Linked DNA regions of Homo sapiens: regions 1, 3, 4, 5, 6 and 7 are each linked to region 2. Evidence: promoter capture Hi-C in human tissues and cell types (Jung and others, 2019). All regions are on one chromosome and are shown on one strand. The core of a region is centred on a gene start or on the middle of the fragment in contact, and the rest is flanking DNA. Distances in the headings are between cores, read along the strand shown. Region 1 overlaps SLC30A2 (solute carrier family 30 member 2). Region 2 holds the start of LDLRAP1 (low density lipoprotein receptor adaptor protein 1). Region 3 has its middle 15 kb from the start of PAQR7. Region 4 holds the start of EXTL1 (exostosin like glycosyltransferase 1). Region 5 has its middle 7.1 kb from the start of LINC02793. Region 6 has its middle 31 kb from the start of MIR3917. Region 7 overlaps PAFAH2 (platelet activating factor acetylhydrolase 2).

What was found. Contacts are between HindIII fragments. The study calls those that stand out against the background at their distance.
Region 1: a fragment that was not itself captured here is called in contact with the fragment with the promoter of LDLRAP1 in region 2 in 1 of the 25 tissues and cell types used here (heart left ventricle).
Region 3: a fragment that was not itself captured here is called in contact with the fragment with the promoter of LDLRAP1 in region 2 in 1 of the 25 tissues and cell types used here (small bowel).
Region 4: a contact is called between the fragment with the promoter of EXTL1 here and the fragment with the promoter of LDLRAP1 in region 2, in 1 of the 25 tissues and cell types used here (heart left ventricle).
Region 5: a contact is called between a fragment that was not itself captured here and the fragment with the promoter of LDLRAP1 in region 2, in 1 of the 25 tissues and cell types used here (spleen).
Region 6: a fragment that was not itself captured here is called in contact with the fragment with the promoter of LDLRAP1 in region 2 in 2 of the 25 tissues and cell types used here (pancreas and stomach).
Region 7: a fragment that was not itself captured here is called in contact with the fragment with the promoter of LDLRAP1 in region 2 in 3 of the 25 tissues and cell types used here (adrenal gland, heart right ventricle and hippocampus).

Annotation. Positions count from the first base shown.
Region 1 is chr1:26,039,164-26,041,863 of GRCh38, forward strand. It overlaps SLC30A2 (solute carrier family 30 member 2), which reads right to left. Exons shown (of 8, transcript NM_001004434.3): 6 at 2,537-2,642; 7 at 614-748; 8 at 1-142. Among named protein-coding and RNA genes, the nearest start is that of SLC30A2, 5.6 kb to the right of the region's middle. The HindIII fragment of the contact is 5,249 bases long and covers 1-2,700 here.
Region 2 is chr1:25,542,309-25,545,051 of GRCh38, forward strand. LDLRAP1 (low density lipoprotein receptor adaptor protein 1) reads left to right here and starts at 1,298. Exons shown (of 9, transcript NM_015627.3): 1 at 1,298-1,478. The coding sequence starts at 1,391. RefSeq lists an enhancer at 968-1,027 and silencers at 1,128-1,587, 1,618-1,797. The HindIII fragment of the contact is 11,973 bases long and covers 1-2,743 here.
Region 3 is chr1:25,889,397-25,892,096 of GRCh38, forward strand. It overlaps a transcript of STMN1 not described here. Among named protein-coding and RNA genes, the nearest start is that of PAQR7, 15 kb to the left of the region's middle. RefSeq lists enhancers at 515-1,714, 1,222-1,725, 1,726-2,229 and a silencer at 902-1,196. The HindIII fragment of the contact is 6,813 bases long and covers 1-2,700 here.
Region 4 is chr1:26,020,459-26,023,158 of GRCh38, forward strand. It overlaps EXTL1 (exostosin like glycosyltransferase 1), which reads left to right and starts at 1,317. Exons shown (of 11, transcript NM_004455.3): 1 at 1,317-2,700. The coding sequence starts at 2,189. The HindIII fragment of the contact is 12,554 bases long and covers 1-2,328 here.
Region 5 is chr1:25,032,707-25,035,468 of GRCh38, forward strand. No RefSeq gene overlaps it. Among named protein-coding and RNA genes, the nearest start is that of LINC02793, 7.1 kb to the right of the region's middle. RefSeq lists enhancers at 1-15, 1,016-1,075, 1,756-1,815. The HindIII fragment of the contact is 6,561 bases long and covers 1-2,762 here.
Region 6 is chr1:25,936,453-25,939,152 of GRCh38, forward strand. No RefSeq gene overlaps it. Among named protein-coding and RNA genes, the nearest start is that of MIR3917, 31 kb to the left of the region's middle. The HindIII fragment of the contact is 4,681 bases long and covers 1-2,700 here.
Region 7 is chr1:25,990,899-25,993,628 of GRCh38, forward strand. All of the region lies in intron 1 of PAFAH2 (platelet activating factor acetylhydrolase 2), which reads right to left. Among named protein-coding and RNA genes, the nearest start is that of PAFAH2, 5.8 kb to the right of the region's middle. RefSeq lists an enhancer at 2,673-2,730. The HindIII fragment of the contact is 7,134 bases long and covers 1-2,730 here.

The DNA.
Region 1 (2,700 bases), core at 69-2,568, 500 kb after region 2:
TCTGAGGGGCCCTGGCATGCCTGACAGTCCTTCATGTCCTCCGAGTAGTCCTCGATCTGGATGGTCACGGTGTGGAAGTGGAACTTCCCTTGGAGGCGGCTGCTGGCTGTCTTCAGCACAGCCTGGGCGTCTGTATTCTGAGCTGGGGGCCGAGAGGACACAGCGGGGGAAGCCATTTACTCTGGCCCTTTGGAACCATCAGGAGCCCAAATCTCATACCCCATCCCCAGCAGAACAGGATGGGGGACCATGAACATGGAGAAGCCCCCAGATTCCATTCCTCTGCCAGGTAGCCTCCCAGCCCAGACCTGGCTCATGCCTGAAAGAGCTGGTAAAGCACTGGCCTTAAGGCCAGGAATCTGCCACCTACTGCCATATACTAGCTGTAAAAGCCTGGGCAAGTAACTTTACCACCCAACCCCAGCCTCAGTTTCTTCATGGATAAATGAGATTGTGCTGATCAGATGGAATAATGCGTATCAAGTACTCAGCATGAGGCTGGGCTTGATGCATGGGCACTGTGAGCATCTGGGGTCACCTGGACCCGTTGGGGATGGCACTAGGCCTTTGGCTGCCTGTCTCCCACCCCACCCTGAGTGTCCCAAGCACTCACCAATGGCGATGTGGACAGACAGAACAGGCTGGGCCACCGTCAGTGCCCAGATATGCAGGCTGTGCAGGGCTTCTACCCCCTCCACCGACAGCAGCAGATCACGAACAGCTGTGAAGTCAACGCCCTTGGGGGTCCCTGAGGACGGCAAGGACAGGGGAAACTAAAGGAAACTACCCCTCCCACGCCTGCCCATTGGTGCAGGGCTGGCTCCTGATCCTCAGGTGTCATCCCCTCAAAGAAGACCTCTTTGGCCTGCAGGTCTGAGGCTGCCTTCACCTCCCAAGGTCTCTGCCCTATCACTCTGTTGTATTTCCTCTCCACTCTTAACACTGAAATTATTTATGAATGTACTTATTGTCAGTTTCTCCCTCTAAAATGGACACTCCATGAGGGCAGGACAGTCTCCTTTGATTACCACAGTATCCTTGGTGCCTAAAACAGCACCTACTCCATAGTAGGTGCTCAATAAATATATTTTTTGGTTTTTTTTGAGACGGAATCTTGCTCTGTCACCCAGGCTGGAGTGCAGTGGCGTGATCTTGGCTCACTGCAACCTCTGCCTCCCTGGTTCAAGCAATTATCCTGCCTCAGCCTCCTGAGTAGCTGGGACTACAGGCGCATGCCACCACGCCCGGCTAATTTTTGTATTTTTGGTAGAGACAGGGTTTCACTGTGTTAGCCAGGCTGGTCTTGAACTCCTGACCTCAGGTAATCTGCCTGCCTCGGCCTCCCACAGTGCTGGGATTACAGGTGTGAGCCACCGCACCTGGCCAATAAATATATTTTTGAATGGAAAGAAGGAAAGAACAGATCCTGAGAATCCTTGGACCCACCCAGGGCACGATCATCATCTTCATCATTATCGCTTTCATCTGGGTTAGCATATTCTTGGAGAAAAAGCTCTGACCTGCAGCCAAATACTGCTAAGCCCAGGCCAGCATCCTACTCCATTCCAGACTGACCCTGACCACGCAGAGGCCTATGACCCTGGCCCAAGACCCCAGGCCTAGAGCATAAGAAAGCCAAGGTGCAGGGCCAGGTGTGGTGGCTCACATCTGTAACTCCAGCACTTTGAGAGGCCGAAGTGAGATGATTGCTTGAGCCCAAAAGTTCGAGACCAGCCAGGGCAACATAGTGAGACCCCCCCCCCATCTCTACAAACATTTAAAAGTTAGCCAGACATGGTGGCATGCGCCTGTGGTCCCAGCTACTTGGGAGGCTGAGGCAGGAGGATTACTTGAGCCTAGGAGGTCAAGGCTGCGGTGAGCCTTGGTGGCACCACTGCACTCTAGCTTGGATGACAGAGCAAGACCCTGTTTCAAAAAAAAGAAAAAAGAAAAAAAAAAGGTAATTCAGGGCAGACCAGATCATTCTCCACCACTGACCGTTCTCCAACCCCACAAAGCACAGCCATGTCCCCACAGGGTGTGGCATTGTTTGGTCCCTGAGATGTAGGAAAGGCCTGCGCTGCAGTGGATTCAGTAGCTTTGTCCAAGGCTGACTGTCCTTCTCTGAGCCTCAGTCTGCCCCTCTGTGCAATGAGAAGCATAATCCTCACCCCCTCTCTCTTCCTGAGAGAAGGCAGCCAGAGCCTGGGGAAGTGTATAGGGGAGGGCTGGAGAGCTCCAGATGCTACAGATGTCCCCCAGAAGCCACCTGACTAGGCAGAGGAGGCACCCTTAGGGGTAGGGGGAAGGGAAGACTCGGGCTGGGGGACGGTTCCAGGAACTGCCACACCTGAAAGCCCAGGCTCTATGTCAAGATCAGCCCAGGGGCCCCAGGAGGTTTTCCAGCCTATGCCGGGGCTCCGGATCCTGGCTCCCCGCCCATGTGCTAGGATGCCCCAGACACACACATACCCTATTTGAGCTGATTAGCGCTTGAGAGCCAAGAGCAAAAAGGGAGCCACAAAGCCCAGGTTACCTTCCATCAACACCAGGATCACATCTCTCAGGATGGTCAAGGTTGTCCCCAGGACCAGGATGGAGAAGACGAAGGTGCAGATGGGGTCTACATACTTGTATTCTGGCTGCAGGAAGACAGGAAGGCAGACCTGGAGTTCACCATCTAACACCTCAGCTTCCCTT
Region 2 (2,743 bases), core at 48-2,547:
AATGCTCCTAGGAAGCAGCTTGGGGTCAGGGTCAAGGTCATGCAGATTCTTGACCCTGGCAGGTTGGAAGGATCACTAGAGATAGCATTGACTCTCATTCACAGATAAACAAGACTCAGAGAGGGGAAGTACTTGCCTGAGGTCACACAGCAAGTCAGTGTCAGGGGCACGTTCCAGATCATACCATCTGTGAGGCTACCTGGGAAGTTGCGGGGGCATGGGGTGGCCCAGCATGCTCAGGTGGTGCCAGGGAGCAGCCTGGGAGCTACGAGGATGAGTAAAGTGCCTGGCTGGACTTGCTAAAGGCAAATTTTTATATACCGACCCTGCGCCTAACAAGGGTCTATACTGCAAGCTTGTCCAACCTGTGGCCCACTGGCCATGTGAGGTCCAGGACGGCTTTGAATGGAGCCCAACACAAATTGGTAAAGGTTCTTAAAACATTATGAGATTTTTTTGGGCAGGGTGTGGTGGCTCACAGCCATCCCAGCACTTTGGGAGGCTGAGGCGGGCAGATCACTTGAGGTCAGGAGTTCGAGACCAGCCTGGCCAACATGGTAAAACTCCATCTCTATTAATAATACAAAAATTAGCCAGGCATGGTGGTGCATGCCTGTAATCCCAGCTACTCGGGAGGCTGAGGCATGAGAATAGCTTGAACCCGGGAGGTAGAGGTTGCAGTGACCCGAGATCGCACCACTGCACTCCAACCTGGGCAACAGAGTGAAACTCTGTCTCAGGGGAAAAAAAACAATACAGAAAAACAAAAAACATGAGTGTGTGTGTATATATATATATTTCAGCTCATCAGCTGTCGTTAGTGTTAGTGTATTTCATGTGTGGCCCAAGACACTTCTTCTTCCAATGTGGCCTAAGGAAGCCAAAAGTTTGGATATCCCTGGCTTACAGCCTCCACTATTTCCTAAGTCTCCCACTGCCCTGGACATCGCATTGCTTTTGTCCCTGAACAAGATCTTTCACCACTGGAGGAGCCCTCAGTCTCCCCATCTGTAAAATGGTCACTGGAAATCCTAGGCCGCTGCTCTCAGGCCCTCAGGCCCCTACGGGGTGGGGATTGGGGAAAAGGAGGAAAGCGGGGGCGTCTAGGGCTTGCGATTTGCTATCTTCTGGCGCCTTCGGGCGGCCTCGGAAACTCTTGGTGCCTGGACCTGGAGCCTGGACAGGGACCGGGCGGGGCGAGACCGGCCGTCGGGGGCGCGGCCCGTCTGGGGGCGGGGCCTGTCCTCTCTCGCCCCGCCCCGTCGGACGCCGCGGCGGAGCTGGCGCTGGGAGGGGAGGAGCGCGCAGCCCGCGCGCCGCAGGGCCGGGCGGAAAGTTTTTCCTGACGGAGTTTTGGCTGCGGCAGCGGCGGCGGCGGCCGGAGCGGGCCATGGACGCGCTCAAGTCGGCGGGGCGGGCGCTGATCCGGAGCCCCAGCTTGGCCAAGCAGAGCTGGGGGGGCGGTGGCCGGCACCGCAGTGAGTGTGCGCGCGTCAGCCGGGCCGGGCCGGGATCGGGCAGAGGCGCGCGGGGCCTCCGCGGGCGCCCGGAGTGCGGCCAAGTTGGGCAGAGGCGGGGCCTCACCGGCGCTCCGGTCCCGGCGTGGCCCTTTCCCGGCCCTGCGGGGCAGGGGGTCGGCCGGGGTCAAGTTGTGCACCTACTCGCCGGCCGCTCGATGCCGCTGCGAGGAGGGGCAGCGCTGAGGAAGGAGCCCGAGCTCGGGGTCCTCAGGTGCAGCCGGCATGGGGTGGGGTGCAGGTTGGGAGAAGAGGCCCCCGCCACCCGCGGCACCTCCCGCCCTGCTGTCCTGGCCAGCTAGGGGGAGGCAGGCGCTCGTCGTCGGTGCCTAGGGGAGGAGGAGAGGGCGCAGGGGCTTGGGAAGACGCCCCCGTCCCGCACCCCTGCGCCCCAGCCAGCAGCTGCGGCGGTCAGGAGCCCACTGGCCCGTTCTCCCGCCCCCTGCCCGACCCACCGGGCCAACTTTTGACTCCGGGTGCCCAGACACCCATCCAGGTGTGAGCCCGGGGTCGCAGGTACGTACTTGAAATTGGGAACGAGGCCCCGCCTGGGGTGCCTCGGGAGAGCCCCACATCAGGCGATCTAGACCCTTACGTCCCTTCCTCTAGCCGGGTCCAGGTGGCAAGCCTGGCGTCCCGACTATTTTTGAAACCTGTTTTCTCTCGCACCTTTCCCCTCGGGCTTCCAGAGTCCCTTGGGTGCCCAGGCAAACGACAGACTCGCCGCCACCTCTCCCTGGGGCGTCTGGGAGGCTGGGAGGGGCCTCCCCCCCTTTCTCTCCCCCAGTCTCTGATTACGCTCAGGGAACTTGTCACCTGGCACCTTCCCCTGAAGCCAGAAGACCCAGCCTAGCGCAGGTCTCGTTGTTTGGGAGGGAGAAGAGAGTGGCTTGCCTGGGGTCACACACACCTTCCTGCTGGTTTTGGAGCCAGAGCCCAGGACTGCTGCACACTCCCACCTCCCTGCCACCTACTTCGGGCCACAGCTTCTCCCCTCATCAGGAAACAACTGACAGTACAGCACCCCCTCATCCCATCCCCTCTTGGCCTTACAGGGCTCTGCCAGGGGAGCCCGAGCTCCCTGGTCCAAGGAGTGCCAGCGTGTCTGGGCCTAGAGGGCCCGCCTCCCTCCTCCTCTGGCCCCACTCTGTTGTTCAGCTGTGGCCGCCTCCCAGCTGAGACTGGCATTGGCATTGGGAATGTGGGGTGGTGCCTGCTGGTGGGGG
Region 3 (2,700 bases), core at 28-2,527, 350 kb after region 2:
TGATGGCCAAATGAAACCATTGTTCCCCTCCATCCATCCCCCCACACCTACTCCTTCTCCAGGCTTGTTTGAGTAGATGGCACCCCCCTTCACTCAGCTCCCCAAGGGAAAAGCCCAAGAGTCAGCCCTCACTGCATGCCCACATCCAGTCCAACAGCTCCTGTTATCTTCACCATGACCTAGATCCTGAATCTAACCATGACCCTCCACCTCACTGTCCAAGCCACTCTCATCTCTCTCCCTTGTGCACTCCGGCTCTCCTTACCGTCCATTCTCCTCCTGGTGGCTGAAGAATTCTTTACACATGTAATCTGATCACATCACTCCCCCCTTAAAGCCCTTCAAAACTGCATCATGCAGACTATAACCAAACCCTCGCCCTGGCCCCAGGCTACACAGCTGGACCCTGAGCACCTCCTTGTATGGGGTCCCCTTGCCCACCTCATCCAGCCAAGAGGGCCTCACTTAGGCTCCTTCCTCACACCTGCTAGTTCCTGCCATCAGGCCTTGGCACTAGCAGTTCCCTTTGCCAGGAACACACTGCACCTGCCCACAGTCATTGTCTGTTATATCACCCTTTTCATCCTCACAGCACTCATCCTAATCTCTTTTATAGTCTGTCTTCTCCCCCCAGGATGTAAACAAGGGCAGAGACCTTGTCTGCCTTGTCCATCGCTGTATCCTCAGGACCTAACACTGCCTGGTAAGTAGGAGGACTGGAGGTGTATTCATTCAATGAATACGTGGATGGAGAGGCTTGTTTCGGGTGGTCTCTTAGGGAACCTTCTAGCTCTTGAAGATCTAAAGAGAAAGCAGAAGAAGGAGCTTGGGGAAGGGGACGCAACACATGAGGTATGTCCGAAACTGGACTAACATCCCAGCCCTCTTCCCTGATTGCCCAGTGTAGGAGATCAGTCAGAGTGGTGGGAGAAACTACAGGGAAAAGGAGCAGGCCTTCTGAAAGGTCAGAGGGCTCTGCAAAGCTCCAGGAGAGAACAGCTGAAGGCAGCTGTTCCATAACCCTGAGGCAGAGGGCAAGGAGTAGGTACAAGGGAGTGTGGGGGAATTTATCTTAAACAGGCTTGTTTACTTATGTTGACCAGAAACTGACCTTTGATTATCTGCACATGAAGTTCCCTGAAAGGGGAAGAATAAATGTTAATTACCTACAGGTTGTGTTGGCTCCAGGTTTCCGGCATTGTGCCTGCACGGAATAAAAGCAAGCAGCCCCAGCTTCTCGGGGCTGCTCTCTGGCCACTAGAGCCAGGTAGTCATCTAGCTGCTGTTACACTGCATACCTGTCTGACTACTCATTTCATCCGTAGGTCGGCCAGGGTCTACGGGACACACCCAGCAGCCCAGGAGATCCTGCTAGGCGAGCGTATCCAGGGACTGAGTCAGAGACCATTTGGAAAAAACTGGAAAGAAGAGGTGAGCACAGGCACTGCCATATTGAGCCCCATGAATTCAAGCCAGAATGGGACCCCCGCCATCTGGAAAATGGCATTGAGAGAGCAAGCAGCCTGCTGGCTCTGCCTCTAATTAGCAGTGGATGAGTGACCTGACCCTCTCTGAACCTCAGTTTCCTCATCTATAAAATGGGATAAAAAAGAATAGTATTTACTTCACAAGGTTGTTTTAAGGATTCAATCGGGGCCGGGCACAGCAGCTCATGTCTGTAATCCCAGCACTTTGGGAGGCCGAGGTGGCTGGATCACCTGAGGTCAGGAGTTCAAGACCAGCCTGACCAACATGGTGAAACCCCATCTCTACTAAAAATACAAAAATTTGCCGGGCATGGTGGCAGGCACCTGTAATCCCAGCTGCAGGAGGCTAAGGCAGGATAATTGCTTGAACCCAGGAGGCAGAGGTTGCAGTGAGCCGAGATCATGCCATTGCACTCCAGCTTGGGCAACAAGAGCAAAACTCCATCTTAAAAAAAAAAAAAAAATTCAGATGGATTATGTAAAATGCCTATACAATGCACGGCAAATTGTTTAAGAGCTCAAACAACTTCAGTCATGTAAGAGAAAGAAAAGAGAGGAGGGAGAAATGATGGAGCCAGGTGACACAAAAGCAGATGTCCCAGTCCCCTGGGGGCAGCCCAGTCAGATATGCTGGGAGTTTGGACCTCCTAGAAAAGACACAGAACTTTAAGGCATCTGAACTTTAGCTTCCCCTTCTCAAAATGGACTTCTGAGTTCTTCTGGTCCAACCCCTTCGTTTTACAAACGTTCTGCATCTTGGAAAGAAAGGCCAAAGACCCAGAGAGTTGGCAGAGGCAAGTACAGAGAGGCGGCCAGTGGGGACAGGGCTGTGGAGGTGGGCCAGTGCAGCAGGCTGTGAGCCCCCTGCTCTCCTCATTCTGGGGAAGAGGATCTGCCTTCATCTGCACCCCGCCACCCCCCACCACCAACACACACAATGAGGGGGAAATGGCAGGCTGGGGAGACCCATGAAGCTGGCAGGAGGAACACTGGGCAGGGAGGGGCCAGCCCTGTGCTGGGCATTTCAGCACTGGGCTCAATACTCATGCAGCCTGCGAGGGGGTCTCTGCAGTTTACAGATGAGGGTATGGGTGCCCAAGCCCCCTGAAAAGCTCTTAGAGCCAGAACCGGAATACTATTCTGTGTGACTCTAAAAATCTCTGCCCATTCTTATGCTCACTAAAGTCTGAGAAAAATTTAAAAATTAAAATTA
Region 4 (2,700 bases), core at 67-2,566, 480 kb after region 2:
GGATGAAGGAATGACATGAGGACCTAGACGGGGGCTCTAACCCAGCCTGCGGAGCATTGGAGAAGCTTCTTGTGGGGAGGGAGCTTTCAGCTGACTCCTGCAGGATGAGGAGTTGGCTGGGCACAGTGAAAGGGGGGGCGTGCGAAGCAGCCAGTGGCCTTTGTGGATGCCTCTCAGTGTGGGAGGACTGAGTTATGCAGGAACTGCAGTTCATCACCGAGTGGCTGAGCCATTAGTGCCAAGAGGCAAGTGTCCCCTTTGTGGGCCATTTTTAGGACTCTCACACTGGCTGCTCACTGAGGGCAAAACATCCCACGGTGGCTCCCTGGTCTGATCAGCAGCCCTCCAAGATCAAGGGGAGGCACGCAGGGGAAAGGAGGCCACCACTTGTTGAGGGACCTCAGGGGACAGGCCTGCGTCAACCTGGCAACCCATTCCTGGCTGACATTATGCCCATCCCAGAGATAAGGGGACAGAGGCCCAACACCCCCGAGGCAGTCAGGGGAAGAGGCAGAACCCACTCAAGTCTGTCCACTCCCTGTGCCTTCCCTCATCAGCCCAGAACTCCTCATGGCCAGAGTGTGTCTCCCCCGTCACCCCAGAGATTCCTCAGTGGCTGACATCACCCACTCCTGACTCCCCTCACAGGGCACTGACCGGGGAAATCCCTCCATGGGGCCTGGACTATGGAAGAGTCAAGTGCAGGAAGAACTTTCCATAAGGACTGGAGCAAAAGGCTGGGAATTGGAGGAGATTGGGGGTGGGGCTGCTGAAGGAGGAGAGACCAATCCTGGGGACAGTTGGGGGCACCTTACCCAATTCCTCCACCCCCGCCCCTTAACTCCTCACTTGTCTCACCTGTTGACCTTCTCATGTGCCGATTCAGAGATTCCTCACACTCAGGCTCTGACCTCCACTGACTCTGATGGCCCACAGCAGGTGCAGGGTCTAGTTTTTCTCCAGCCACAGGGCCCACAGCTGGGGTGACCAACGACCAGGAGCTCAGGATTGAAATCCCCACCCTGCCACTTCTTAGCTGGGTCACCTTAGGAAGAGTTCATCCCCTCTCTGAGCTTTCCTCATCTGTAAGAAATGACAGGTAAATCTCTGCCTTGGAGGGTGGCTGGAGGACTGAGAGACAGAGGCTGTGATAACTCATGGCCAGCTGTGAGTTGCAGTACTTGCTGGTTGGATTAGCAATTGAGGAAACTGGTTTGGAAGGGGTTAAATGGAGACCCTGCCTCCCAGCCAGGAGCGAATCAGGGCTGGGAGGGGAGGAGCCAGGCTGCTGCTAAGGAAAGAGATCAGGATGGGCCAGTTGCCGACTGGAGAGGGATGGGAGGAGATACCATAGGGTTTGGGGGGCTTGGCACAGCGGCCCTGGCCTCTGCACTGTGATAGCTCCAAGCCAGATGGTGCAAGGCAGCTGCTGGGCTGCGGGGAAGAGGGGCTGCACTTCCTGAGCTGGTGCAGCGGCAGAGTGGATAAGGATCAGGACCCCGAGCCCTCCTGGCCCTCCAAGGCAGGGGGACACCGGCTGCACCCAGGCTGTGACCTCAGCTGACGCCGATGATCCACATGGGATGCAGGGTCTAATTTTAGCTCCAGCCACAGGGGCCACAGCCCAGAAGCGTCTGCCAGCGGGCACAGGGGCAGCCAGGGCTGCTCAGGCAAGGGGAGGAGTGGGAAGACCAGCCCAGCTCCCTCCAGCCTGTCCCTGGCCAAGCCGCCTCCTGTGGGAGCTCTGACTGGTCCCCATGGCCTGGCAGACAGCCCTCCTCTCAGTTGAGGGCAAGGTCAAGGGGTGCAGCCAGGAGGGCAGGGGGACACGGCCCTGCATTCTGGACAGGGGTTGCGTCAGCCAGAGCAGTGCCCAGGGGCAGGGGTCCCTGCTGGGAGGGAAAAGGCTGGCTTGGTTGTCCAAAGGCCGAGAAGGCAGAGTCCTGAGAGCAGGGGGGCCAGGCCAGCAAGCTGGGTCCCACCTGGCCTCCTCCTGCCTGGCTGGTGACTCACTATCTGACCTTAGACAGGCGGCCTGGTCTCGATGGGCCTCAGTCTTCCCATCTGTACAATGACAGCACAGGACTAGCAGGTCGGTCCCAGCTCTGGTCTCCCGCCCCAGGCCCTGCTCTTCCTGCTTGCTGGCAGAGGCCTCCCAGCTTCCCTAGCCCTGACTGTGGGTGGCCACATGCAGTCGTGGAGGAGAAGAAAGTCCCTGTGGCTGGCACTGTCAGCCTCCTGGCTCCTGCTTGTCCTGCTGGGAGGCTTCTCCCTTCTCCGCCTGGCATTGCCTCCCAGACCTCGGCCCGGGGCTTCCCAAGGCTGGCCCCGCTGGCTGGATGCAGAGCTCCTGCAGAGCTTCTCCCAGCCTGGAGAGCTCCCAGAAGATGCCGTTTCACCTCCTCAAGCCCCTCATGGTGGCAGCTGCAACTGGGAATCTTGCTTTGATACCTCAAAGTGCAGGGGCGATGGCCTTAAGGTATTCGTGTACCCAGCGGTTGGAACCATCTCTGAGACTCATCGCAGGATCCTGGCTTCCATTGAGGGCTCTCGCTTCTACACATTCAGCCCTGCTGGGGCCTGCCTCCTCCTCCTCCTCAGCCTGGACGCCCAGACTGGAGAGTGCAGCTCAATGCCTCTGCAATGGAACAGGGGCAGGAACCATCTGGTCCTCCGTCTCCACCCGGCTCCCTGCCCCAG
Region 5 (2,762 bases), core at 5-2,504, 510 kb before region 2:
CTCTGGATTTTTAATAATCACCCCCTCCCTCCAGTTTTAGTCTACACCTAATTCAATGAAAGTTTGTGACGGATTTTAACTATTGTCTTCCCCAGTCTTTTATGGCTGTCTTGCCCACACCTCATTTGGCAGCACTTTTTTTTTTTCTTCCGTTGACAACTCGCCTATAACTGGGCCTTTGCAAAGTCCTTTCTTGGTTTTCTGTGACACGACTCTCTTTCCCATTCACATTCTGGTCTCCCTGGTTCGGCCACTACAGCCAGCAGCTGCAGGTCTGGGAAGAAGCCTCACTGAGTCAGAGGAGCCGCCTAGGTGGGAATAGCAGCGGCCGGCCTGCCTGGAACATTCAGGAAGCTGTGGCATCTACTAGCCTCTCTTTCAAAGGACAGGGAGAGTGTTTGTTAATCCAGAGTGGGTTGAAGGGAGGTCTTGTAAGGCACTTTCTATGGTTTGATTCCCATTCTACAGGTGAGGAAACTGAGGTACATGAAGTCACTTCCCCAAGGCCACCCTAGGCTCGTCTAGCTGGGATCTGAACCCAGGCCTGCCTGGCTCCACGTTCTTCATCCTCACACCCTGCTACCTCCTTGTTGCACCAGAGGGGGTCCCTGTGCAACCCAGGTCTGGCTTTCCTGCTGGAAGGACTTAAAGGATCTCTCTTGCATGTGGAATTTGAGGTGCATTTAAACATTGTCCACACTAAGCCTGGTACGGAAGATGGCCACCGATCTTGGGGCAAGGTCTTCTCCCTTGGTCCTGTGTCTCCACGCCCAGGCCTGGTATGCAGCAGGTGCTCATGAGTGTCAGGAGCTGGACAGGAACAGTCAGGATGCCTTTTGTGTTTCTGCCAGTGTCGCGAGCACCTGCTCTGGGGCATGCACCAGGCTGGGTTCCAGGATCTAACAGGAAGGAGAAGCTGGTCCCATCACTGGCCTCAGAGGTCAGTGTCTAGCAGGGTCATTCCATGTCCCCTCGTCCAAGCCTCCTCTGGTCAGACTTCCTCTGAGGGGACAGGGGGTTGTTAAATATGCAAAGGATGTGGATTTTGGAGTCAGACACATCTGAGCTCCAATTACAGCTCTGCCACTTATTGGCTGTGCGTGTAACCTCAGACCGATGGCCACCTCTCAGCCTCGGTACAAACGACAATGCCTCATTCTAGGCCCTTGGTGGGCAGACCCCCAGCAGGGCTAGGAGTCCCTTGAGCCCCAGGGAGGAGGAAGCCCGTAGGCAGGAGGGGTTCGGCTGTGGACAGGGGACCTGGCAGTCAGCTCCCAGAAGCTTCCGACCGTTGGTGGCTGTGGAGAGCGAAGCGGTATGCAGGGGAAATGAAAAGAGGCCAGACGTCGTCCAGGCCGCAGCACGCAAGGGCACCTCACTCCGCTCCTTCGTTCCCTCCCAGGCTCAGAAAGGGGAAGGCAGCCCAGACCAGGAAGTGGCCAGCTTCTGATGGCCACCGCATGGGGACCGCACCAGCCCCAGCAGGAAGTGGCTGGCCCCTTCCCACCCCCTGCCGAGCCAGGCCCTCCTGCACTCACACTTGGGAACCAGCCAGCCTGAAAGTCCCTGTTCTCAGGTTCTGGGACCAGCACTGCATTCTTAGAAGCCTGGGTCCGGCCGGGGCCCCTGATGTTGTGGCTGGGGGTCCACAGACCTGGGTTCTCAGCCCCGCTTTGCCACTTCCTCGCCCTGAAGCCTCAGCCAAGTTGCTTCCCCGTCTGGACCTGTTCCTCGTCTGTTAAATGGGGTGATCACCCACCACCCGCCGCCTCAGAGGGACAGTGAAAATGGGGAGTCCTGAAAGGCCAGAGCTGGAAAGTCCCCGAAGAGTCCTTACAGAGGAGGCAGGTGGGAAAGGAGGGAGATTGTCCCCGGTCCCACAGCCAGTGGGTAGCAGGGCCGTGAGGTTCTGGAAAGAGCACTGCATTGGGAGGTAGCACTTGGCCCAAGCCTCACTCAGCTCCTTCCTAGCTATGGGACCTTGGCCAAGTCAACCAAGGCCCCTGGGCCTTTTCCTACAAGACAGCAAACCTCGTCTCCCAGGGCTCCTGGGGCGCGCAGATGCTCCGTACTGTGTTGTGAACAGGAAGGGCTTCTTGCTGGAGGTAGACTGGAACTCAGATCTCAAGGGTTCCCGTTCTTTGCTGCCCCTCCCCTGAACTCCATATGCAAGGAGTGGGGTCTGGCACCTCCTGAGGGGAGGACTCCTCTTGCTTGCCTCTACCCCTGCCTCCCCCCATTGGGTGAGAGGTGGCAAATCTCTTTCCTTGATTCCACTGAGTCACTGGAGGCCGTGCTCTTGGAGGAGCTGCGTGTGAAGTCACCTCTCCCACATCAGCAGCCAGAGACGCCATTGCCACTGACACTGTGGCACCCAAACCCCCGTCTACTGCAGGCTGGCAGAGCCCTCCACAGACCCCGGAGCCCAAACAGCCTTTGTGGTGCAGCCAAGGGGTAAGGGGGAGGCTGGGCGGGGCCCGGAGCAGCCCTCCAGCAGCAGGCTTCCTGATGCTGTTGGCACCACTGCCCAGTCCCAGCTCAGGCTTCTGGAGAGTGGGCCTCAGGATGGCAGAGCTGGCAGAGGAGGTAGAGGCTAGCCCATCGTGGGGACAGAATGAGAGTCCATGGACCTAAAGAAGAGCTGGGAACCGCAAATCCCATGTGGAATTATGGGATATGTGTGTGTGTGTATGTATGTGTGTGTGTGTGTATGTATGTGTGTGTGTGTGTGTGTGTGTTCATATACACACATTATCTGCATT
Region 6 (2,700 bases), core at 200-2,699, 390 kb after region 2:
ATAAAAATACAAAAATTAGGCAGGCGTGGTGGCACGTACCTGTAATCCCAGCTACTCAGGAGGCTGAGGCAGGAGAATCGCTTGAACCTGGGAGGCAGAGGTTGCAGTGAGCCAAGATCATGCTACCGCACTCCAGCCTGGGCGACAGAGCGAGACTCCATCTCAAAAACAAGAAAAACAAGTGTCGTGAGACAGACCAGCTTCCAGGCCAACAAGATTGATCTGTAACTCATTGGAGCATCTTCACACACCTAAAGTAGCAATGCACTGATGGAACAGGGGTTAGCAAACCTTGGAAGCCCAGAAATAGTGTTACAGAGGCAAATATAGGCTGTCCCCTTTCAAGCAGCGCTAAGGAGGGGTGCCCTGCCCGAGAACCCGTGTGCCTGTCTCTGGTAGCAGTGGTTTAAGTCCTGCTATGGAGATGTGCACAGCAGGGCTTACCCTGGTATCTTTAACATTGGGATCATGTCTCTTAATTTCCCTTGCTTCACATCACAAGTCAATCTTCCAATTAGAATGTGGCTTTGCCTGTGAAGGGCTGTAGGGAGAGGAAACTCAGGCTAGGGGCAGGGGTCTTGGATCCTCTGGTTACATTTCTCATTGTACATTAGTTGGCCGGCACTCCAGGTTTGTGGAAAGCTCTGTGAGTATGGCTAAGCCCTGTTCCTCAGCAGCACGCATATCAGTTTTCTATGCCCGCAGAGCTCCTTGGGTGATGGCCAGGAAACCCTAATGTGCTGAGATTGAGAGCTCTTACTTCTTATTGAATTTTCTTATGAGTAATTTCTCTCATAGGAATCTACTCAAAGGAAAAACTAAAAGTTCAGAAGTACACGTGTACTTACAAAAGATGTCCAGTGTAGTGGTTTTTAAACACCTATTATTATTATATTTATTTATTTATTTTTGAGACAGGGCCTCTCTCTGTTGCCCAGGCTGGAGTGCAATGGCGTGATCTAAGCTCACTGCAACCTCTGCCTCCTGGGTTCAAGCAATTCTCCTGCCTCAGCCTACTGAGTAGCTGGGATTACAGGTGTGTGCCACCACACCTGGCTAATTTTTGTATTTTTAGTAGAGGCAGGGTTTCGCCATGTTGGCCAGGCTGGTCTCGAACTCCTGACCTCAAGTGATCTGCCTGTCTCGGCCTCCCAAAGTGCTGGGATTACAGGCGTGAGCCACCGTGCCCGGCCTATTATTATTTTTGAGACAGGGTCTTGATTTGTTGTCTAGGCTGGAGCTCAGTGGCATGATCACAGCTCACTGCAGCCTCGACCTCCTGGGCTCAAGCAATCATTCCATTTCAGCCCTCTGAGTAGATGGGACCTGGCTGGGACCACAGGCCCATGCCACCATGCCCAGCTAATTTTTAAATTTTTTGTAGAGATGGGGTCTTACTGTGTTGCCCAGGCTGGTCTCAAACTCCTGGGCTTAAGCAATCCTCCTGCCTTGGTATCCCAAAGTGCTGAAATTATAGGTATGAGCCACAGCACATGGCCAAAACTTTTTATTTTGAATTAATTTGTAGATTAACACGCAGTTGTAAGAAATAATATTGGGAGGCCGGGCGCAGTGGCTCACACCTGTAATCCCAGCACTTTGAGAGGCCAAGGCAGGTGGATCACCTGAAGTCGGGAGTTTGAGACCAGCCTGACCAACATGGAGAAACCCCGTCTCTACTAAAAATACAAAATTAGGCTGGGCGCAGTGGCTCACGCCTGTAATCCCAGCACTTTGGGAGGCCGAGACAGGTGGATCATGAGGTCAGGAGATCGAGACCATCCTGGCTAACACAGTGAAACCTCGTCTCTACTAAAAATACAAAAAAATTAGCCAGGCATGGTGGCGGGTGCCTGTAGTCCCAACTGTTCGGGAGGCTGAGGCAGGAGAATGGCGTGAACCTGGGAGGCGGAGCTTGCAGTGAGCCGAGATAGCACCACTGCACTCCAGCCTGGGCGACAGAGCAAGACTCCGTCTTAAAAAAAAAAAAAAAATTAATCAGGCGCAGTAGTGCATGCCCATAATCCCAGCTACTTGGGAGGATGAGGCAGGAGAATCACTTGAACCCAGGAGTCAGAGGTTGCAGTGAGCCGAGATCGTGCCGTTGTACTCCAGCCTGGGCAACAAGAGAGAGACTCTGTCTCAAAAAAAAAAAAAAAAAAAAAGAGAAAAGAAATAATATTGGGAGATCCCATATACCCTTCACCCAGTTTTCCCCAAATATAACATCTTGCATAATAACAATCAGATAATTGACATTCATATAATCCACCCACCTTATTCAGATTTCACTACTGTTCAAGTACGCATTTGTCTGTGTGTGTGTGTGTGTGTGTGTGTGTGTGTATTTAGTTCAACCAAATTTTGTCACATGTAGATTTGTGGAACCACCCTACCATAGTCATGACACAGAACAGTTCCATTACAAATAATAATGTTAACTTTTACAGGAAAAAAATAAAAATAACCTCAGCATCCAATACTGGGAAGTTGGTTACATAAATTGTGTTACAGTTATAAAGTAAGATATTTAGTCATATAAATGTTATGTACATGAACATTAAAAATGTTTATAAAGATTGTTTAATATGGAAAAGTGCTTATGAGGTACATACACACACACACACACATATATATCTATATATCTATATATCTATATATCTATATATCTATATATCTATATATATTTTTTTTTTGACA
Region 7 (2,730 bases), core at 33-2,532, 450 kb after region 2:
GGTTTCCTCTCGGCTTCCTGTTGCTGAAATGTGTTATCTGTTACCCTGTCCACCCCTCCTTAGCACCTCATCCTCCCTGCCGTCGCTCATTAAATCTTGCACCTACTACTTTGCTACATTGCCTTTGCCAAGGTTGGGGGTTGTTTTTTATTTTGCTAGGGTGAGGAGATGGCTGGAAGACGAAAGAGAGCCATCCATACTCCTTACAGCCCATTAACGTATGTTTATCCAGCAGCTACTGCTGCAGAGACTGTCACACAGACCTTGCTCTCCTGAGGCTAATAGTAACCACTAAGATCCATTATTTACGGTTAGCACTGTACTGACCTCTTTATAGACACTATACACATTGCATCATTTCATTGTCTCAACCACTCTCTGAGGTAGGTACTTTTTTTTTTGAGACGGAGTCTCGCTCTGTTGCTAGGCTGGAGTGCAGTGGCATGATCTTGCTCGCTGCAACCTCCGACTCCCTGGTTCAAGCGATTCTCCTGCCTCAGCCTCCTGAGTAGCTGGGATTACAGGCACGTGCCACCATGCCCAGCTAATTTTTTGTTTAATTTTTAGTAGAGACGGGGTTTCGCCATGTTGGCCAGGATGGTCTTGATCTCCTGACCTCGTGATCTACCCACTTTGGCCTCCCAAAGTGCTGGGATTACAGGCGTGAGCCACCGCGCCTGGCCTGAGGTAGGTACTATTAAGACCTTGTTTTGGCCAGGCACGGTGGCTCACGCCTGTAATCCAAGCACTTTGGGAGGTCGAGGCGGGCAGATCACCTGAGGTCAGGAGTTCAAGACCAGCCTGGCCAACATGGCGAAACCCCGTCTCTACTAAAAATACAAAAATTAGCCGGGTGCAGTGGCAGGCACCTATAGTCCCAGCTACTCAGGAAGCTGAGGCAAGAGAATCGCTTGAACCTGGGAGGCAGAGGTTGCAGTGAGCCGAGATTGCACCACTGCACTCCAGCCTGGGTGACAGAGTGAGACCCTGTCTCAAAAAACAAACAAACAAACAAAAGACCCTGTTTTACAGATGAGGAAACTAAGGCATAAAGAGGTTGAATAACCTTCCCAAGTTACCCAGTGGCAAACCCATCTCTGCCTAATCCGGAAGCTAAGTTCTTAACCATTACTGATCCTGCTCAGGGGGAGATTCAGTTATACAGATGCAAAGTTACTGAACTAAGCTTTTTCTTAAAACCGTTTGATTTTTTTGAGAGACAGGGTCTTGCTATGTTGTCCAGGCTGGTCTCAAACTCCTGGGCTCAAACAATACACCTGCCTAGGCCTCCCAAGTAGCTGGGATTACAGGTAAGAGCCACCACACCCAGCTTTTAAACTACTGAATATGGGGTAGCACTTATGCTGGGCCTTTAAAGATGAGGAAGTTGAGAGGCAGGGGAGGAGGAAGAAAGCACTTATAGAAAAAATCCTAAGAGGAAAAAAAGCAGAGGTAGGGAAAAGTATGATGTGGGCAGTAGATCAAACAGATGCTTTCAGCATGACAGGCATGCACACTCCTGACTAGATAACATTCCTACGGCTCAGCTGCTTCCTAAACTGGTGCCAGTGCTCCCCTAACCCTCTTCAGTTTCATCATCTCCAACACCACCATCATCATCATACTTACTCTGTGCCAGGAACTATGTTTAGTGCTTTTCACATATTATTTTATTTAATTCTTTCAACAGTCCTCTGAGATACGTATTATTATCTCATTTTACAGATGAGGAAACAGATGCTTGACAAAGGCAATTTACCCAATAACATATGGCGAGCAGAGCCAGAATTCGATCATGGACAATGTGGTTGTAACATGAGAATGTCAAACTTCCCAGTGTCCCTTGCCTTGTGATTTGGGTGGGGCTGACCCCTCCTTAACCTCCGGAGTTGAGCCTTAATTAACCGGAGCCAATCAGTCCTTCTTATTCTCCGGTCAGTATTTGGATGAAAAGTGCGCGTATGGCATTAGGTTGGTCCAATAGGCGTAAAACCCGGGACTTTGGTATGACGGTTGAGGGGAGAAAAGTTATTTCCTGTGTTGGACTAGTGTGATGTGCAGATGTCACCTGTCAAGTGGCCTTGAACCACAGCAGCCACTTTTGCCACCTTGAGGATGAAGATACCCATGGTGGATGGGAAAACCAGAAGAATCACAGAGAAATAGAGGCCCATTTGTGAAGACATTAAGAATCCACAGATTAGACCATACCTGAAACCTGACCCACTCCTAGACTTTCTAGTTACATGAGTCAGTAAGTTCCCTTTCTTGGTTAAACCAACTGAAGTTAGATTTCTTTTGGTTGTAACCAAAAGCATCTAAATGGATACACACTGAGTCTGGGGTCCACATGTTAATGATTAAATTATTCTGCTTCCTTTAAGATGCTCTGGGAGGGATTCAGGAGTTCCAGTCAAAGCATGTCTGGGTAAGAAGAGACCTAAGGGAGCATTTCCGTCAATCCCCTCCACAATCGTTTTCCCCTTCTCCGCGTACATACACGTGCTTTACCAGGGAAGACACCAAGGTCCGGAGAGATTAAGTGAGCTGCTCAGAGTCACAAGCAGAACGATGATAACAACACACAGTCTCCTGGTTGTCAGCTGCCACTTGTCTGGTCTCAACAATCCTAACATCATTCTATTTAACTTTGAAAGATAAGAAATTATTTTCTTTCTACTACAGATAGCATCTTCATTTTGTTTCTTTTTAGCAAATTTAAAAACAAAC